Regions from separate parts of the Homo sapiens genome. Here regions 2, 3 and 4 are each linked to region 1. The links are contacts of gene promoters, found by promoter capture Hi-C in blood cells and fetal thymus (Javierre and others, 2016). All regions are on one chromosome and are shown on one strand. The core of a region is centred on a gene start or on the middle of the fragment in contact, and the rest is flanking DNA. Distances in the headings are between cores, read along the strand shown. Region 1 holds the start of SNAPC3 (small nuclear RNA activating complex polypeptide 3). Region 2 has its middle 3.8 kb from the start of TTC39B. Region 3 has its middle 25 kb from the start of TTC39B. Region 4 overlaps PSIP1 (PC4 and SRSF1 interacting protein 1).

What was found. The method cuts DNA at HindIII sites, captures the fragments that hold promoters and counts their contacts. A CHiCAGO score of 5 or more calls a contact.
Region 2: a contact is called between a fragment that was not itself captured here and the fragment with the promoter of SNAPC3 in region 1, in 13 of 17 cell types (activated CD4 T cells, total CD8 T cells, naive CD4 T cells and 10 more). The highest score is 16.6, in activated CD4 T cells.
Region 3: a fragment that was not itself captured here is called in contact with the fragment with the promoter of SNAPC3 in region 1 in 2 of 17 cell types (M1 macrophages and naive B cells); the score reaches 5.4 in M1 macrophages.
Region 4: a contact is called between a fragment that was not itself captured here and the fragment with the promoter of SNAPC3 in region 1, in 7 of 17 cell types (total CD8 T cells, non-activated CD4 T cells, total B cells and 4 more). The highest score is 7.6, in total CD8 T cells.

Annotation. Positions count from the first base shown.
Region 1 is chr9:15,421,601-15,424,161 of GRCh38, forward strand. It overlaps SNAPC3 (small nuclear RNA activating complex polypeptide 3), which reads left to right and starts at 1,276. Exons shown (of 9, transcript NM_001039697.2): 1 at 1,276-1,593; 2 at 2,309-2,386. The coding sequence starts at 1,280. RefSeq lists a silencer at 1,003-1,292 and an enhancer at 1,633-1,752. The HindIII fragment of the contact is 2,004 bases long and covers 1-1,724 here.
Region 2 is chr9:15,309,754-15,312,314 of GRCh38, forward strand. No RefSeq gene overlaps it. Among named protein-coding and RNA genes, the nearest start is that of TTC39B, 3.8 kb to the left of the region's middle. The HindIII fragment of the contact is 2,175 bases long and covers 206-2,380 here.
Region 3 is chr9:15,330,843-15,333,403 of GRCh38, forward strand. No RefSeq gene overlaps it. Among named protein-coding and RNA genes, the nearest start is that of TTC39B, 25 kb to the left of the region's middle. The HindIII fragment of the contact is 2,334 bases long and covers 105-2,438 here.
Region 4 is chr9:15,494,664-15,497,224 of GRCh38, forward strand. The region is part of intron 3 of PSIP1 (PC4 and SRSF1 interacting protein 1); the gene reads right to left. Among named protein-coding and RNA genes, the nearest start is that of PSIP1, 15 kb to the right of the region's middle. The HindIII fragment of the contact is 284 bases long and covers 1,154-1,437 here.

The sequences.
Region 1 (2,561 bases), core at 26-2,525:
TTGTCTCTTAATGCATATGCCCAGGAAGTTGCTTCTCCCTGTCACCTGCATTCAACGAGCACTTTAGTGCAACAGGTGTGGGCCATCAGGAAATGGCCTCTCCCTGGCACCGGCTGCCAATTTATCACTTTTAGAGGCAATGTGATAAATGCCTAAGCATCACCCCACATTCCTAGTGGGTGAGGGAAGAGCCCTCTCCTGCCCTGCTCATGCCTAACTACCTGTAACAAACCTTGTAAACATTAAGCCAGCCACCAAAAGACCATATAATTCCGTTTATATTAAATGTCCAGATTAGTTAAATCTAGAGAGACAAAGTAGGTTCTTGGTTGGCTAGGGCTGGAGGAGTTGGGAGGATCAGGGGTGATAGCTAAAAAGTACAAGTTTCTTCTTTCGAGTGGTAAAAATGCTCTCAAATAGTGGTGATGGTTGCCCAAGCCTGTGAATATACCAAAAATCACTGAACACTTCAAATGGGTGAATTATATGGCATGTGATTACAGTCTAATAAATAAATAGTATGTCCTGCTGTATCCTTCAGGGCCTCTGAGAAATGGAGAGAGCTCCATCTGAAGCCAGACTGAGTTCCGATCCTGCTTCTATTTTCCCCGCAGGTAAATCCTTCCTCAACAGCAACACGGGGTGATACGCCCTATCCGGAAAGGTTGTTGTAATTTTTAAAAACATTAAAAACATACATTAGGGTTAATCATGTAGCGTGTGATACACAGACGCTCTGAAACACTACTGCACACGCACACCAACATGGGGCCTCTGCGGAGCTTGTGAAAGAACCAGATCTGGAGGGCTGGTCGTGTCCCTGGTCTCGGCCCTCGCCCTCCTTGTTTCTTAGGCTCTAAAGCAATCAGGCAGCAGAGCAGTCCTTGAACCCCAGTCAAGAAAAAGCCCTGCACCCCTTAGTCCGAAAGCCGCAAGGAACGGGGCCTAAGCGCCTGGCGAGGCCGCCCTACCGGGCAGAGACAGTTGCTACGTAACTCGGGGACCAGAAACCCAGCCCCACCCGCTGCGGTTAACCGACAGCCGCAACGGTTCCCGCACCGCCCGGGTCGGAGAACAATGCTGCGCCCTGCACGTAGAGCCTCGCGGTGCCGCGCCCTGGGGCGGGCCTGCCCATGGCCTGCCGGGAAATGTAGTTTCTGATGCCCTGCCCGCGCCGCCTCGCCGCTCGCCGGCCGGGCGCCCCAAGCAACTACAACTTCCATCACGCTCTGCGAGGCCTTGATCTGCAGGCTTTTGCAGGGGAAGGAGTGGGGCGAACATGGCTGAAGGAAGCCGAGGTGGCCCTACGTGTAGCGGGGTGGGTGGCAGGCAGGACCCAGTCTCCGGCAGTGGCGGCTGCAACTTTCCAGAGTATGAGCTTCCCGAGCTAAATACGCGCGCTTTCCATGTGGGCGCCTTTGGGGAGCTGTGGCGGGGCCGTCTGCGCGGGGCCGGGGACTTGTCGCTGAGGGAGCCGCCGGCATCCGCTCTGCCTGGGAGCCAGGCAGCTGACTCCGACCGGGAGGATGCCGCGGTGGCCAGGGATCTGGACTGCAGCCTGGAGGCGGCGGCTGAGCTGAGGGCGGTGTGCGGGTGAGTGCGGAGCAAAGGGGCTCTTGCAGCTTGGGGTCAAACAGGGTGCAGCCTTGCTCGTGCGCTCCTCTGGGACTCATCCCTGAGAAGGGCCTGTGGTTTAGACCTGGGCTAGGAGTATTACCCTTTAAAGCTTTCAACCCGCTGGAGCCTTCCTGGGACACCAGGAGAAGTCCTGGGACCCGAATGCACAGTTTCTACGAGTTGGAGCAAAGGGACAAGACAGCTGCATCAAAGACTAGTTTTTCCATTTGCTTATTCTAAGAGTGCTTGTTAATAAAGAAAAGCAATCAGGGCAACAGCGACGTGTACCTGCCATTGACAGACACTTTGACAATGGAGGAACCTGAGTAATGGTGAAGCTGCGGGAGACTTCATCAGAGGAGTGTTAAAACCCCGACTAACTGGTTTCTTTTGGGGACCTTCCGGGTATTCTGTTACTGAAATATTTCTTAAAAGTGCCTTATTTGGGGATGAAAATATAAAAATAACTTTAATCTCTTTCTCCATTTAACAGTACTGGCTGCCTTCATCGGCCTTTTCATTATAAAATATAATCACAGAAATCGTTGTCTTAAGTTCTGGCCTCTCTGAGCCGCCTGCTGGATTTTATCTGACTTCGTAATTCAGTAATGTATTTAGGAAAACAACCCTAACTCGCTGTGAACCAGATGCAGAGTCGACCTTAAAGTATTGCTTTTCCTTTTTGTTTTAGCCTTGATAAACTGAAATGCCTTGAGGACGGTGAGGATCCAGAAGTCATTCCGGAGAATACTGACCTGGTGACTTTGGGGTATGGAGGACTTGGTTTTTATGACCTATTTATTTAAACATTTTTTCAACATTATGTTTTGAAAAGTTGAAAGTGCAGTATTGATTGTTGTCTGTATACCCACCCCTTAAATTCAGCTGTTCTTAATATTTGACCATATTTACTTTAGCCGTGTGTATGGGATGCCTGCTGTGTG
Region 2 (2,561 bases), core at 43-2,542, 110 kb before region 1:
ATTGGTTCCTGAATTGATAGCACATCCTTTTGACATGAAGCCATCTCACTGGTAGCTTCTTCTCCCATATGCTGTTATTCTGCCTTTGGAATTTCAACTCTTCAAATTTTGAAGAGATCCAAACAAACTTCGCTCTAATTAGTGACAGAATTATGTTATAATGAAAATCGAGTACAATTTTTCAAAAATCTATACTTATAATTGAAGCTTGATTGGTGTTTTTGTTGTTGAATTTTTTACATATCAGGGATCAAACCTGAAGTCTCGTATGTTTTAAATTCACGGCAGGAGATAAGCAACATTCATGTTTCAATTATAAACACTGAATGAATAAATGTATTCTAGCCACTGGAACGTCTAATCAAATTTGCTTTGCTCAGGGCAGCTGTCAGCTTTGCCTATACAAGAGTGATTTTATCGTGAATCACAAATATAAAAGTTTTTCTTCAAAGAACAATTAGAATGGATTTGTTTTTACACAGAATTCCCCTTGCAAGTTTGCTGATAATGTTATACTCTAGCAGTCAAGTGAGATTACTCAGATATTCCATATCCCAGAAGTAATTAGCATAGAGATCAAGCAAGAGGGTATCTGAATCATTTCATTTTGAAGCCACACCTACTGGGAGCTGTTTGTGTTTCAAAATAAATCTAATATTGTAAACAATCTAATCTTCAGTATTCCTGAACATGTTACCTTTAGCTGATAGTTTTTTGCTGGTACTTGATTTAAGTGAAAATTGAATCTTCATGATTTGTGTGGTAGGAGAAGCTCAAATCCATGAAATAAGTGCTCATTGTAAATCATGTGTTTGTCAGTGACTTTGTCTCACATTCGTGTCTTAGCTCTTCAAGGAAGACGTCCCCTTCTAAAGCAGTCCCTCCCTCTCAGTCACACTCTACCACATCCTCCTGCTGTATGTATAGCACTGTTCACTACCTGGAACTTTCTCGTTCACTTGTTTACTGGTTTATGAGTATGTCCTTCAACAATGGCACCTCACACACACTATAATACAAGCTCCATGAGGGAAGGAACTTTGTGTTTTGTGTCTACAGCAAAAACCCGAATGCCCAACACATAATGACTACTTAATAAATGGCTATTGAGTGAATGAATGAAAGTATAAAAAGTTCATAGTACATTAAGCATTATTGTTTAGACCTAGCAGCCAATGTTTTAGCATAATCCAGTAATAATGAGGGAGATTTAAAGAATGCAAATCACGTGTAGTCTAAAATGTAAATTGTTTCCTAGGGTAATGTAACAGGCATGAAGATTATCTTTAATGCCTACTCAGTTTTTCAAAGTTACATAAGAGCTAAGCACTTAGAGGTCCCTCAGTGACCTAAGAAGAATAATTCACCTCCCTGGGAGAGGTTGCGATGCTAAGGGGAAAAACCTCATCATTTAGTGGAAGCTGAAATCTTCCCTTCAGAATATCCTTTTTCCAGGCACTTGGGGCTGGGTAAACATTTATTTTGCCCCACCTATTAGTTGTTTGTTAACTTTTTTGATATATATATATATATATATATATATATATATATATACACACACACACACACACATATATATATACACGCACACACATATATATACACACACATCAAAATATATATTATATATATATATAATCTTTCCAATTGCCTTCCTGTTGATTTTCATATCTCTTTAAATTTGATTAATATCGTTTTTTCAGACAAAGAAAGTAAAACCCAAAGAAGAGAGCAACAACATGAAGAGTAACTTTGGCTATATGCAATCTCAGGGCAGAGTGTCAAAGATTTAAAAACCAGACCAAGCAGGCATGGAGGTACACCAGTAGTCCCAGCTACTCTGGAGGCTAAGGCATGAGGAGGATAACTTGAGTCTAAGAGTTTGAGTCCAGCCTGGGCAACATATCAAGACCCTCATCTGAAAGGAAGAAAGAAAGAGAGAAGGGGAGGAAGAAAGAGAGAAAGAGAGAGGAGATAGAGAAAAGAAAGAAGAGAGAAAGAGAGAGACAGAAACAAAAGAAAAGCAATATCAATAAAAATAAACAGGTAATTGGCAGCTTGTTGCCACCTGCTGTTCATTCTCCCATAGCTCCATCCATAGGAGCAACTGCCTAGCTGAAAGACTACATTTCTCAGGACTCCTTTGCAATTAGGAATGGCCAGTGTAACTAAATTCTGGCCAATGAAATTCATTTGACATCCGGGAAGGCTATTTGAAGGAAAATGACTCAACTAGGGCATGGGCCCTTTTGCCATTATTCCAGTGAACATATGAATAATAAGAAAGCAAAACAGCCTTATTGCTGATATTAAGAAAGTTGCAGTAGTCTGATCTAACCAGCCACAACATTCTCTTAACCCAAAGCCTAATCCAGAGCAAAGCTTTAACTCTTCAATTCCATGAAGGCTGAGAGAGGTGAGAAGGCTGTAGAAGAAAAGTTGCAAGCTAGCAGAGATTGGTTCATGATGTTTAAGGAAAGAAGCCATCTCCAAAACATAAAAGTACAAGGTGAGGCAGTGAGTATTGATGAAGAAGCTGCAGCAAGTTATCCAAAAGATCT
Region 3 (2,561 bases), core at 22-2,521, 91 kb before region 1:
TATTCAGAGGCTCTAAAAGAATCCAACTCAAACTCCGGTGTGTTAAAAGCTATCTTCCTACCTACTGCACCTTACCTCTTTACAATCTATTTAATCTCTTTTTAAGCTTTGTTAGATGGGAATGAGAAAATTAGCACATCTTTCTGGAAAACACTGTAGCAAAAAGTAACAAGAGTTTAAAATTGTTTGTACCTTTTATCCTTCCTGGGACAAGAGGACACCTTTACAAATTCACTTCTTGCTTTTAGGTAAGTAAAGGAAGGGCAGAGAACTTTTCTTGTATCTGCTTCCTCTCAGTTGCCTTCAGCTCAAAATAATCTTCATGCCAAAGTGGCATATTTTGGGTTTGCATATTCTGCTACTCTTAAGTTTTTAATCATAGCACTATTTTTCATTTGTAAAATTGCATATTACCTACGAGACAGGGAAAGATTTAAAAGTTTCATAAAATGCTATGTTGGAAAGGCTTATTGTTGATATTGAGTTGTTGTTGTTGTTGTTGTTGTTGTTTTTGAGACAGGGTCTCACTCTGTCAACCAGACTGGAGTGCAGTGGCATGAACACAGCTCAGTGCAGCCTCAATCTCCTGGGCTAAAGTGATCGTCCCACCTCAGCCTCCCATATAGCTGGGACCACAGACATGCGCCATTACACCTGGCTAAGTTTTTAAATTTTTTCTAGAGATGGGGTCTTGCCCACACCAGTCTTGAACCCCTAGACTCAAGCAATCCTCCCATCTCAGCCTCCCCAAGTGCTGGGATTACAGGTGTGAGCCACTCTGCCCGACCGATACTGAGCTTTTCATTGCAACAATTCTAATGAGGGCAATTTAGCAATAATCAACCAGAATTACAAATTTCCTGCAATTCCACATCTGGGAACTTATCCTACAGATATACTCACATATATGTGAAACTACCTATGTGCAAGGTTACTCATTGCAGTGATATTTTTAACAACGCAAATTTGGGAACTACTGAAACCATCCATCAGTGAGGGATTGGTGGCCAGGTGTGGTAGTTTGTGCCTGTAATCCCAGCACTTTGGGAAGCCAAGACTGATGGATGGCTTGAGTTCAGGAATTCAAGACCAGCCTGGGCAACATGGTGAAACCCCATCTCTACAAACAAAGTACAAAAATTAGCTGGGCATGGTGGTGCATGCCTGTAATCCCAGCTACTTGAGAGGCTGAGGTGGGAGGCTCGCTTGAGCCTGGGAGGTGGAGGTTGTGGTGAGCCGAGATCAGCCACTGCACTCCAACCTGGGTGACAGCATGAGACCACATCTCAAAAAAAAATAAAAGAATTGTTGATACTATAAAACAATGGAGTATTATTATTCAGCCTTAAAAAATAAAAATAAAAATGCCAGGTGCAGTGGCTCACGCCCATAATCCCAACACTTTGGGAGGCTGAGGTGGGCAAATCGCCTGAGCTCTGGAGTTCGCGACCAGCCTGAGCAACATAGTGAGACCACCGTCTCTACAAAAAATACAAAAAAAAATTAGCCAGGCATGGTGGTGCATGCCTGTAGTCCCAGCTACTCGGGAGGCTGAGGCATGAGAATCGCTTGAACCCAGGAGGCGGAGATTGCAGAGAGCCAAGATGGCACCACTGCACTCCAGCCTGGGGGACAGAGCGAGACTCCATCTCAAAAAAAAAAAAAAATTAAAATTAAAAAATAATAAAAATAAGGATTCTCCTTAAGTACTAACATTGAATCATTGCCAAGATATATAAAGTAAAATAGGCAAGGCACAGAACAGTATTAATTGTTCCCTATTATTCTTTCTCCCTTCTTCCAAAAGTTTTAGCCAGACACATGACCATCAGGAGTAGACTACATTTTCCAGTGTCCCTTGCAGCTAAGAGTGGCTATGTGATTGAAGTCTCCTCAGTGAGATATGAGCAAAACTATTATGTGGCAGCTTCCAGGTCCCTTCCTTAGACAGAGGTATTATGTGGCCTTTGTTTCTCCATTGGACACATTCTTCATTGGATACACTCCATCCTGCTCCCGGGAAAGTAGTTCTCTCATCTTGGTTCATGATTGAACTGGAAGAAAACCAAGTCCCTTTTGGAGCTCACACACATCACAACTCTGGACCACTCTTGGAATTTCGCATGACAGTGATATAACCATCTTTTTTAAACCATTATTATTTGGGGTTTCAGTTATTTGAAGCTGAACCCAGACCTATCTCTTACACAAGTATAAATTTTGCAAGACTTATATCTGGCTAAATTGCCTGCAGAAAGATTGTGTCAATTTGTGCTGCAATAAGTGCTGTATAAATGTGTACAGAGCTTTTTTTTGCCACACTGTGCCATCTCCTGGATACCAGATGCCAACTGCTCGCTGGATCTAGAGACAGGTAAAAAGAATCTACAAATGTGACCTGGATGCCAGGACAGGCAGAGGCACCAGTACCAGCAAGAAGCTTCAGAAATAGAGTAGTTATTAAAATGACCATTTGCAGTGAGAAAATAAATCACTACAAACTACCAACTACCAGAGGCTAGGAGATTCAGGTCCCTTACTTGTGACATCTCTTTAGGCAA
Region 4 (2,561 bases), core at 46-2,545, 73 kb after region 1:
TCATTGTATCCATGTATTTTAACTGCACATCCCATTTTCAAAGTAATATTATTATGCTAGGATTAAGGCAAACCAATAATTTACCAAATTTACTTTGGAGTTAAACTGAAATCATCTCATTCCATCAAAAACTGAAGATTTTACTAGACATCATTAATTCCTGTCCATAATCTCAAATTAGAAAAATTAACACATTTAGCTCTAACAGTATAACATTCCTCTTATGTAACAGGTTTCAAATTCCAAGTAAATGACTTGAGTTAAACCTCCATGAAAACGTATTTCTGGTCAGAACAAACCCAATTCAACACAAATTCTCCCTCCTGAAAAACCAGAAAAACAACAGTAAAGAGATTATTTTAAAAGTATAAACTCTTAAAACCAAACAAGGCAAAAATAAAATTTGGAAGCTAAAAAGACAACTAAAGAAGTTGAATCTTAAGCACCCTCATTTACAATTTAAAATCCCCAAAGGGCTCAAAATTGGGGTGACCAGGAACTTCAGGAGTAGGAAAAGACCTCAAAAATAATTACAGGAAAATGTTTTAAAACCTCAAATATTTATTTTTTTTTAAAGATATGGCTCTAAGTCTAAAAGCCACAGAAGACTGATCTACCACAAAGTTACTGTATAAAAGATAAATTTTTTTACATGAATCATTTTTCTTAACCTCAAAAAAAGCAGTTCTTAAAAAGGACCATGCAAGGCAATCTTAATAATCAATGGGAAAAGTTACGATTGTTCTGTGACCTTTAAAATTTGTCAGAATATTAAGTAGTCTATTACTGACGGTTATGTAAATGCATAAGGAAATGAAATAGTAAAACCAATACCAACTTAGTATGCTGTAACTTAAAACATTAGGAACACTGATATTAAAGTGTATCATTTCTTTGTATTAAAAAAAATCTATCAAGAATAGTTTGAACAGTGCTTGCCTTCTTCTAGTGATATTTATTATGATATGGAATGCGTCTATCTTCTATGCCTTGGCAAACTGTCATACTCCTAAGTTTAGATCACATTCCAATATTTTATCCTTCATGCTTTCAATGATGTGAAATATCCTCAATGTTTTTTGTTGGTATCACTTCTATTAATAGGATATCTTCATATTTTCCATTACAACTACCTTTTTCATTTATGTTGATAAGCTTGCCTTCACTAAGTTTCTCTGGCTGGACAATTAGTGTCTCTCCAACTGCAAACCATCTATATTCACAAGGTAAGCTATTTATTCTATTATTCCATTTATGTTAAATTCAAATTTCCCATCTAGCATTAGGATTTTTGCTGCACTATCATCTTTGTTGACCAATTTCCTTGTTTATTTTGGTAAACTGTCACATGGGGACATCATTAGGAGACAGAGGCCAACTATACATCCGACTGTGCATGATTTTGAGAAACCAATGCATGGTGACCAATCACCAAGAAGCTTTAAAAGTGACATTATATGCACCTGTCATTTACATCTTAATTTGTAGGTTGAAAGACTAGCAGCAAATGTTGTAGTTTATACAATTAGTTAATATGGCAGGGTAGGTGAAATTTTAACCATGTTGTTAGTGGACTGTTACTTAGCTAAGTCATGGCAATTGAAATTTGTGCCTACAGGAACTATGTAAAGCTAAGGACTGCCTATATATACCCTTCTCTCTTCAAGCTTTGAGTTTAAATTCCACTTTTAACAGACAGCAGTATTGCCATTCCTGCTTTCTTTGTGACATTGTATCATTGCTTGCTCTTGTTTTGTTTGAGCTTTGTCTCACAAAATAAGACATAGCAAAGTGGTTTATTAAAACAGAAAGTCTTAACAGAACTATATTCATTCATAAAATGTAATGTTTACATTTAGTTTTATTCACACCACCTCATTTTACGTGTACCTTTTCACTACAATTGTTTTTTATTCTTAACTTTGCTAAGTAGGTTTTTAAAAAAATTCACCCCTTGCTCCTACTCCCAGATTCAGATTTACAAGTTGTACCTTTCATTATTAACCATAATGGTTCAACTGATGTCATACATAAATTCACGTATCTTAATATACCAAAAATTAAATAACTATGTTCTTCCAACTGAAAAGACTTTTACAAATGTAAATTCATGTTAAGTACAGAAGATTTTTAAATTCGCACACTTTTTTTTAGTTCACATAATTCAACATCATTAAGTTATCCAGGAAATGTAAATCAAAAATCACAATATACTACCGTCACTCCCACTCAGACGGCCAAAAAATAACAAATAATAACAAGTGTTGGCAAGGATGTGGAGAAATTGGAACCCTCCTACAATTGCTGGTGGGAATGTTAAACGGTGCAGCTGATTTGGCAAGTCTGAGAGTTTTCTCAAAACGTTAAACGTGAAATTACATCTGACCCAGGAATTTTCTCCTAGAGAAATGAAAACTTATGTTCACAAAAAAACTTGGACACAAATGTTCACAGCATTATTCATAAAAGCCAAAAGTAAAAATAACTCAAATGTCTATCAAGTGATGAATAAATATGGTAAATCAATATAATGGAATATGTGACAATAAAAAGTAGAGTAG